Linked DNA regions of Homo sapiens: region 1 is linked to region 2. The links are contacts of gene promoters, found by promoter capture Hi-C in human tissues and cell types (Jung and others, 2019). All regions are on one chromosome and are shown on one strand. Each heading gives the region's core, a stretch centred on a gene start or on the middle of the fragment in contact. The rest is flanking DNA. Distances are from core to core; before and after follow the strand shown.

What was found. The method cuts DNA at HindIII sites, captures the fragments that hold promoters and counts their contacts. A contact is called where the count stands out against the background at its distance.
Region 1: a contact is called between a fragment that was not itself captured here and the fragment with the promoter of ABTB1 in region 2, in 1 of the 25 tissues and cell types used here (spleen).

The regions. Positions count from the first base shown.
Region 1 is chr3:128,795,032-128,799,457 of GRCh38, forward strand. RAB7A (RAB7A, member RAS oncogene family) reads left to right here. Exons shown (of 6, transcript NM_004637.6): 2 at 329-389; 3 at 2,912-3,038. The coding sequence starts at 337. It also overlaps the pseudogene RPS15AP16. Among named protein-coding and RNA genes, the nearest start is that of MIR12124, 50 kb to the right of the region's middle. The HindIII fragment of the contact is 3,194 bases long and covers 1,491-4,426 here.
Region 2 is chr3:127,669,843-127,674,380 of GRCh38, forward strand. ABTB1 (ankyrin repeat and BTB domain containing 1) reads left to right here and starts at 3,110. Exons shown (of 12, transcript NM_172027.3): 1 at 3,110-3,239. The coding sequence starts at 3,184. It overlaps PODXL2 (podocalyxin like 2), which reads left to right. Exons shown (of 8, transcript NM_015720.4): 7 at 1,592-1,771; 8 at 2,426-2,960. The coding sequence ends at 2,638. RefSeq lists silencers at 2,392-2,471, 2,482-3,081, 3,222-3,481. The HindIII fragment of the contact is 16,115 bases long and covers 1-4,538 here.

The DNA.
Region 1 (4,426 bases), core at 1,838-4,337, 1.1 Mb after region 2:
AGCAAGGACCAAGCTGTTGAGTAAGTTGGAGCATTAGTTCAAATTGCCAATCCATTCAATTGATCCACCACCCAAGTGAGAGAATACATTCTCTCCAACAGCTTGCAGGGGCAGGATGGCCCTGCTGTGCTGTTCTGCCTCGCTCTTGGGTCCAGAGTTTTGGTGAGTGATACTGTTTTTTATCAGTGCCCCCTGGTGGAAGGAAGATACCTAGCAGGAAGGTTCAGGGCCCTGCACTGTTGGGGCTGCTCAGACATTTGTGCAAGGGAGGTGTTTTGTTTTGGTGTTTCCATCACACTCACAGTGATTTCTCCTTTTCCCCCTTTAGTTTGAAGGATGACCTCTAGGAAGAAAGTGTTGCTGAAGGTTATCATCCTGGGAGATTCTGGGTAAGTTACTCATGAATTTGAGCTAACAGATTGGCTTAGAGCTAAGCCTCTCTGCTGTGGAGCCCACACTGTCCGTGCTGCCACTTCTTGCTTTCATAGTGAGGCTTAGGGCCTTACATGTTTCCCTCCACGGCAGAAATTTAGATGATCCCTTGTTATATAACCTTTTGTTCTCTAGTTTTTAGCATGATTTTTTATGGGGAACGGATGGCTATTTGAACTCAACTAAGGATAGGCATTTTCATGGAATCCCTTTTCTCCAAGCTGGCCAGGCTGGGGAGTCTTCCTTACGTAGATGTATTGCCATTGGCATCTGGCGTAGCAGATGTGCTTTTTTTTTTTTTTTTTGGAGACAGAGTCTCGCTCTGTCGCCCAGGCTGGAGTGCAGTGGCGCGATCTCGGCTCACTGCAAGCTCCGCCTCCCGGATTCACGCCATTCTCCTGCCTCAGCCTCCCGAGGAGCTGGGACTACAGGCGCCCGCCACCACGCCCGGCTAGTTTTTTGTATTTTTGGTAGAGATGGGGTTTCACCGTGTTAGCCAGGATGGTCTTGATCTCCTGACCTCGTGATCCGCCTGCCTCGGCCTCCCAAAGTGCTGGGATTACAGGCGTGAGCCACCGCGCCCGACCCAGATGTGCGTTCTTAGTGCACCATACAGTATCCTCCTGCTGCTGTGCCTGCTTCAGATCTATCTGCAAAAGAGCCTGGGACGGCAGAACTGGGTTCTGATTCTAGATGTGCCACTAACCATGTAGCTAACTCTAATGGCTCTTAAGATTCTGTGGTAGGTTGGGTGAGGTGGCTTATGCCCATAATCCCAGTGCTTTGGAGGCTGAGGGGAGGATTGCTTGAGCCCAGGAGTTGGAGACCTGTCTCTACAAAAAAAATTTAGCCAGGTGCCGTACCTGTAGTTCCAGCTGCTGGGGAGGCCGAGGCGAGAGGATGGCTTGAGCCCAGGAGTTTGAGGCTGTAGCAAGCTATGATCATGCCGTTGCACTGCAGCCCGAGTGACAGAGCAAGACCCCAACTCTTAAAATAAAAAGATTCTGTGGTAGGCTTTTCAGACTTGGCATCTGAAGGGACCCATGAAAGCTTTGACTCATTGGAAGCTTATGTATTTTTAAAAATAACAACAATAGCAAATGCAGGTATGCTTCTTTATTCCAAAGTCCCCTGCCCTTCCTTTGAAAAGCCAGAGGTTTTTCTGTCTTGACTGGCTTATTTGAATCACCTGCAGAACCTTTTTTTGTATGTGTGTGAGAGACAGGGTCTCGCTCTGTTGCCCAGACTAAAGTGAATGGTGCAATCACAGCTCACTGCAGCCTCAACCTCCTGGTCTTAAGCCATCCTCCCACCTCAGCCTCCAGAGTAGCTGGGACCACCAGTGTGTGCTACCACTCCTGGTTAAATTTTTGTATTTTTTATAGAGACAGGGTTCTACCATGTTGCCCAGGCTGGTCTCAAACTCCTGGGCTCAAGCAGTCCACTCGTCTCGACCTCCCAAAGTGCTGAGATTACAGGCTTGAGCCACCATGCCCAGCCTTTGAAGAACCTTTTGTTCGCTAGCATTTGCCCAGCCCCAGACCAGTGGGCTAGGGCCTAGATTTGTGCTCTCTCTCCTACCCCGCAACTCCATCCCCGTCGGGATGGAAAGATAGTGCTTTTAGGCCTGCCTTCCCCAAACTTGTGCAAAAAGTCTCACCAAGCCCTTGTTCGATTCCAGGTTTTGCCACCTCTCACCTTGTAGATTCTGGCTTAGATGGTCTGGGTTGGAAAACACTGCCTTCGGCTGTCTAGGTACCTCCAGGTTCTTTAACACAAATATGAACATGTTCCTTTGTGGCCAAGAAAGGTGATATCACTGGCTATGGGGGGGAAGGTTTTTGTATTAGCTTTAGGTTACCTTAACCTTATCACACAAAAATCACACATTGTCTCTTGCTGAGTTTTCTTACTAGAAAACATATTTGGAGGAGCATTCTTTGAGGTGGATTTGTTTTGGTGATATATTGGTGCTTTTTCTGCTTCAGATTTTAAACTTTAAAGCAGCAAATTGTCTGAGTGGTGTGTGTCTGCTGAAAGCCAAGGTCTTCCTCCTGGTGTTACTTCATCAAGCTAAATAGCAGCCACTAAATGGAGAAACATCTAAGATAGCAGGGATACTGTTGGAATAGCAGAACAGTCTTAATAGTGAAGCTTCTTTTAGAAAGCAGTATATTTGCTGGCATCCTTCTAGAATGGAAAAAATAATACTAGGCTCTACCATTTGACCTGGCTGTGCCAAAACATGTAAGCAGCTTTTCCACATCTGCCCCACATCTGTACCCTATATTTTTACCCAGAGAGAAAACACAAAACTTCAAAAGTGTAATGCTCGGAAGGCTACTGGCATTGCCCTTTGCTGTGAGGGCAGTTTCTTGTCCTTCAGGTCAGGCAGATTCTTTTAAATGCTTCAAGTAATTCGTGTCAGTTTCAGGACCCTCCTATTTGACTTATACTTATGGTTTTTCTCCAATTTCAGAGTCGGGAAGACATCACTCATGAACCAGTATGTGAATAAGAAATTCAGCAATCAGTACAAAGCCACAATAGGAGCTGACTTTCTGACCAAGGAGGTGATGGTGGATGACAGGCTAGTCACAATGCAGGTAAGCACATGTCTTGGCTGTGCTGACCAGGCCTTGATAGTTCATTTAGTCTTAATCTTTCCTCATGCATAGACATTTTCCTTCCCTGTTCTTCAAATCTTATTATCTTATTTGTAGATAATTGGCTGATACTCAGTTAAATTTGAATTTCAGATCAATAGTGAATACTTTTTTAGTATACTTCTAGTGTATCTCAGATACGACTTGCTAAGACACACTAAAAAATTCTTCTTAAAAAAAAACTCAGATTTATCCTTTCTTGTTTTTTGTTGTTTTTGGTTTTGTTGTTTGCTAAATTTGGCAACCTGCAGGTCTCTGTCTTGTGCCTCTCTTGACATCCTTGCCCAGTGCTTTAGGTAAACATCTTTGTCTCACCTCAGTAGTGAGACATAAACTTTATTTTTCTGACTTCCTATTTCATACGTAACTTCAAGAGTTGTGTGTCTATTGAGCCAATCTTTTTTTTATGTATCAGCTTATTAATCTTTCAAGGGTTCCCTTTCAACAGTTAGGATAAGATACAGATTCTTTCATATGACTTGTTGAAAAGCCTTCACATTCTGGCTATAAACTATTATTCCCTTTTTTTCCCCCATTGAGTCATTTTGTTTGTATACATGTATTAACATCCCTAGAAAAGAAACCCCTGAAGGATGGATACCTTGAGCCCAGGAGTTTGAGCCTGCAGTGAGCTGTGACTGCTCCATTATACTCCAGCCTGGGTGATGGAGTGAGACCCTGTCTCTAAATTTAAAAAAAAAAAAAAAAAAAAAAAAGAATCCCAGGATTTTCCCTCCTGTATTTTCATCTCTTTCTTCATGGTCCATGATGCCAGCTGAGGTTGTCAGTACAACCTCACTTTGAAACCAAACTATTGGGATAGGAGTAGATTATCCTGTCATTTTTCTAGATCTTTGAGTTGCACATCACATCTGGGGCCAATCATTCCAGGGGCAGTTTTAACCTGCCTGTGAGGTTTACAGTAATTTTCCCAGCTCTGTGATGACCAGTGATTTCAAATTTTCAATGTGATCATGTTTCATCTTCACACTTAGAACCAGACCATGACTTGGGAGCACAGCCTAATAAGAACCTGGTGTTTGCCCTTGAGAGCATCAGCCAAGACGTTCATGCATTACGGAGGCAAGAAAAGATGGTGGAAATAGCTGTTACTCACTTTTTTTTTTTTTGTCTCGTTCCAGTCATTCCGAATCATGTGCTGCTCTTACAGACTTGTGTTGGTGGATATGTCTCTGCTTCCAGCAGGGCCTGTATACCCACCTGAAGTCTCCAACTTTTAGCTCAGATCTTTGGAAACTTCTATCTCCATGGCAGTTGTTCTTTCCTATGTGCTTCTAGAGGCAAATACAATTCTAATCCCATTATAG
Region 2 (4,538 bases), core at 1,860-4,359:
CCCCCAGTCCTGCTCCTCACACCACCTTGCCTATGGGGTCCTTCTGTTCCTCATCTCACTTCTTGAGGACAGCCACCATCTCCACCAAAACTGCCTTTGCTCACTGTAGAGTCCAGTGCCCTGTCATCAGCCCTCTCCACTCCCGAAGGTGCTGCCATTTTTGGCAGGAGAGATGAGTGGTATAATGCTGGCCGCCTCTTCATCCTTGCATGCCAGGGGAGCAGAGGCCCTGGTGGTGGTGCTTTTCTGGTGAGCATGTCGAATGCCCACTGAGCACCACACTGTGCAAGGCTCTCTCCCTCAGTCCTCGCCACCACCCCATGGGGTTGTGAGGGTTAAGTGAGGCACCTGTTGAGTACCAATGGTGTCCCCATGGAAGATGAGAGCTGAAGCGGGAGAGGTTAGGTGACCTGTCTGAGATGGCACCAGCAGTAAGCGGTAGAGCCAGGCTTTGCAGGAAGCCTGATTCCGGAGCCCGGGCCTTTCACCACACTGCTCTACTGCCTGGAGGGCCACTGAGGCCCTTCCCAGTTCTGGAATCGTGGGTCCATGAACAGTGGGGCTGCTGGTGGAAGTGTGGGCTAACCTTGACCTTTTATACAGTCCTCCCCCTGCTTTTCGCTGCCCCTGAGTATTCTGGCGTTACTGGTCACTTAATTCACACTGACTTGGCCAAAAGTCATGCTGGGTCTTTGGAAATATACTCAGGTGAATCTAGCAAGAAAAACTGACCCTTGATAACAAAAAATTGAGAAAAGTACTGGAGATACACGGGTGGTTCACAGAAACCGGGGAAGAGCTGCAACCTGAACTCAGAAAGGGGGCCTGGTGCAACCTAGGCCTCAGCACTGGGAACTGCCCTGATCCCTCACCTGAGGAGCCCCTGGTGGTGCTCGCCCTCCTGCTTCTCTCTGCTAAGATGCTGATCTGTGGAGATAGCACCTGCCTGGCCCCTGGCGCCGATCTCCTTGGCCAGAGAAGGCAGGACTGACCATGACAACCTGCAGCGTGGAGGGATGCAGGCAGCTACATGCCAGCAGTGAACACGCCATGGGAAGGGAGGAAGCTGGGCAGCCGGGGTGGCCCCCCATGTGGCCTGCATGCCCTCAGTATCCCTCCCTGCACCGGCCCTGGCATCAGGAAGCTGACTGGTCCACCCCTCCCCACCGAGGTGGAAGCGGTTGTATGGTGGAGGATGTGTGGGGGGCTCACATCTCCTGTCTCTCTAACTAGTTAGGATAGGTGTGGGCACTCTCTCTAGTTGGATGGTGTCCAGCAGCATGGGTCCACTCTCACTGGAGGCCTAGGGCCACAGTGAGCTCAGACTCAGCGGCTGGGGCAGAAGCTATGGTGGGATGTGAAGGAGGCTGGGAACATGGGCATGGGGTGGAGAGGCCTCCAGGTGTACTGAGGCAAACGGGATGGGCATGGGGTAGAGGCAAGCCCAGGCGCCAGGGAACTTCAGGAGCCGGGAGTGCCAGCACCTTCTAAGCCTGCTCCCCCATCCCCACCCGAGCCCAATGCAACCACCCCAGAGGAGCCATGGCACCCCAGGACCTCAGCTGAGGAAACTGGCCCCTCCCACCCCTAGATTGGCATCCAGAACTATTCCACAACCAGCAGCTGCCAGGCGCGGGCCAGCCAGGTGCGCAGCGACTACGGCACGCTCTTCGTGGTGCTGGTGGTCATTGGGGCCATCTGCATCATCATCATTGCGCTTGGCCTGCTCTACAACTGCTGGCAGCGCCGGCTGCCCAAGCTCAAGCACGTGGTGAGTGTGGGGACAGGTGGGGCTGGGGGCCAGTTGAGAGGAGAGTGCCCATCGATAGGTGTCCTCATCTGCAAGGGGAGGCAGTGACTCTCCTGGGCGCACAGGGTCCCGTGGGTGAAGCAGCTGGTCAGCCTAGCACTGCTGACTGCTCTGCAGGGCACCAGCCCCAGGACAGGTGCCAGAGGTGCAGGGAGTGAGGGGGCTGCTAGCCCCACCAGGGGGCCCCTCCCTGGCACCACCAGCCCCTTTCCGGCGCAGGCACTGCAGGGCCTGAGCACCTGAATACCTCACCAGAGGCAGGCCCTGCGTTGGTGGTGCCCAAGGATCAAGGAGAGGCTCCAGCAGCCTAGAGGCCTCCCCAGGAGGAAGCGAGCAGAGCCCTAGCGATGCTCCCTGCCCACCTCGCAAGTGGAGTCTTCTTAGGGGGCTGTTGGGGGATCGATGACGTCAGGGAGGCCACGGGGCTTTGTAGTGCCAACGACTAGTAGGTTTATTTTGAGAAAGGAGTTGAGCTGCAGCAACAGAAAAGAAGGATCTGGCACCTGTGGAGGGTGCCGCGGGAACCCCCTGGGTGGGGTTGCACAGACGGCCGCGGGCCTGGCGCTGTCCGGGGGCTGGCTCGCTCGCCCATGGCCTCTCCCCACCCCGCCTCAGTCGCACGGCGAGGAGCTGCGCTTCGTGGAGAACGGCTGCCACGACAACCCCACGCTGGACGTGGCCAGCGACAGCCAGTCGGAGATGCAGGAGAAGCACCCCAGCCTGAACGGCGGCGGGGCCCTCAACGGCCCGGGGAGCTGGGGGGCGCTCATGGGGGGCAAGCGGGACCCCGAGGACTCGGACGTGTTCGAGGAGGACACGCACCTGTGAGCGCAGCCGAGGCGCAGGCCGAGTGGGCCGCCAGGACCAAGCGAGGTGGACCCCGAAACGGACGGCCCGGAGCCCGCACCAGCCCCGCGCCTACCCGGGCCGCCCCCGCGGCCTGGCCCTCGGCGCGGGCTCCTTCCCGCTTCCCCCGACTTCACACGGCGGCTTCGGACCAACTCCCTCACTCCCGCCCGAGGGGCAGGCCTCAAAGCCCGCCTTGGCCCCGCTTTCCCGCCCCTGAACCCCGGCCCCGCGGGCGGCGGGCGGCGCTTCCTGCGCCCCGGGACTCAATTAAACCCGCCCGGAGACCACGCCGGGCCCAGCGCGTCTGCCTTCTTGACTCATTCTTATTTCCGGGGTTGGGGCGGGGCGGGGCGGGCGGGGCACCCCGGGGCAGGGGCGGGGCCGCGGGGCGGGGAGGCCGGGGCGGGCGGGTCCTCCGGACGCCGCTGCAGAGCGGGGCGGGGCGGGGCTGAGCGTGTTTACATCCGCCGGGTGCGCGGCTTCGCCGCCCGAGGTCGTTCGGCTCGGGTACCATCCTCCGCGCCATGGACACCAGCGACCTGTTCGCCAGCTGCAGGAAGGGGGATGTGGGCCGAGTGCGGTGAGGACCTCGCAGTCCCGGGGAGGGTGCGGGAGGTGGCCGCCCTCGGAACGCCTCGGGCCCTGGGACGGGCGGCTGGGCGGCCGCGGAGAGGCGGGCGCCTCTGCCGGGTCACAGCCCTCGGAGCGCCCCCGCGGGGCAGACCACCCGGACCCCCGCCGCAGCCCCCCAGCGGAAGCGCGCTGGGGCGGGGACACTGATGGCCATTGACCCCCGGAGGGCTTCCTGTAAGAAGGGACTGCTCAGCGGAGGCCCGAAGGCGCAGAAGTGGGCGGAGAGAAGGCGGGCCACTGTTCGCCCTGGTAGGGCCCGGACGTCAGACCCCCCGGGCGCAGGGCGCGGGTATAGGCCTGGGACTCCAGACGTGGCCCCTTTCTCTCGTGCTCTCTGGACCTGGCGCGGGGAACACCTAGAGCCCATAATCGGCCTCCGGTCCCTGAGGATTCGGAAACTCCTGACGCAGCTAAAGTGAATCTGGCGCTGAGATGCCCCCTCCATGGGCCGGACGCGGAGGGAAGGGGTGCCCAGTTGGGTTCTGGGGCCCTTCCCCTCCTTGGGCTTCCACTATCCCGTTTGACCTCCTTTTTTCTTGGCCCTTCCTCCCCCTTGACCTGGTGCTGACTGACTGCTTCCACCTCCCCTGGGCTGGCGCCGGGCTGCTGTACTCCCGTAGCCTCCCTGGGCCGCTCCCTGACATCCCGTGCCACTCAAGAGTTAGTGCATAGTGTCAACGCTGAGTGGGTTCACAGCACTTCCAGGTGCAGCCTGGAGGCCTCCTTTGGGCTGCCCCCGCCTCAGTGGGGCTGCATTAGCATTGGCGACTCCCCTCGCTCACCTTCCGCATCCCATCAGTTGCTGTATCCCGCGACTCCTGCCTCCTAGAATTGTGTGCCCTCCACACCATCAGGAGGCCTGCAGCAGCTTTTTCCCGGGCTCCCTGCTTCTAACAGGGCCAGCTTCTTCCTGCAGTAGAGAGCTCTGGTGGGAGTGAAGGCTCCATCACCTCCTCTCCCAAACGCTGAAAGGCCAAAGGTCCAGCCTCGGCACTGGCTCTGGCTTCTGTCCCTGTAGCCCATCGTCCCCCAGCACTGATAGCACACAGTGTCTGCCTGTTCGACCCCACCTCCACATCCTTGCCTGCACTTTGCCTTGAGTGCCTCTCCTGCTCTGGTCTGCCTGTCACCTGCCCTCACCTGGGGGAGGCTTCCCCATACCAAAAGGGATGTTTTCTCTCCGTTCCTTTCCACGGGCCTTCTTTCTCAGACCATGAACCCGTCCTGACCCAGGCTCTGACCTCCT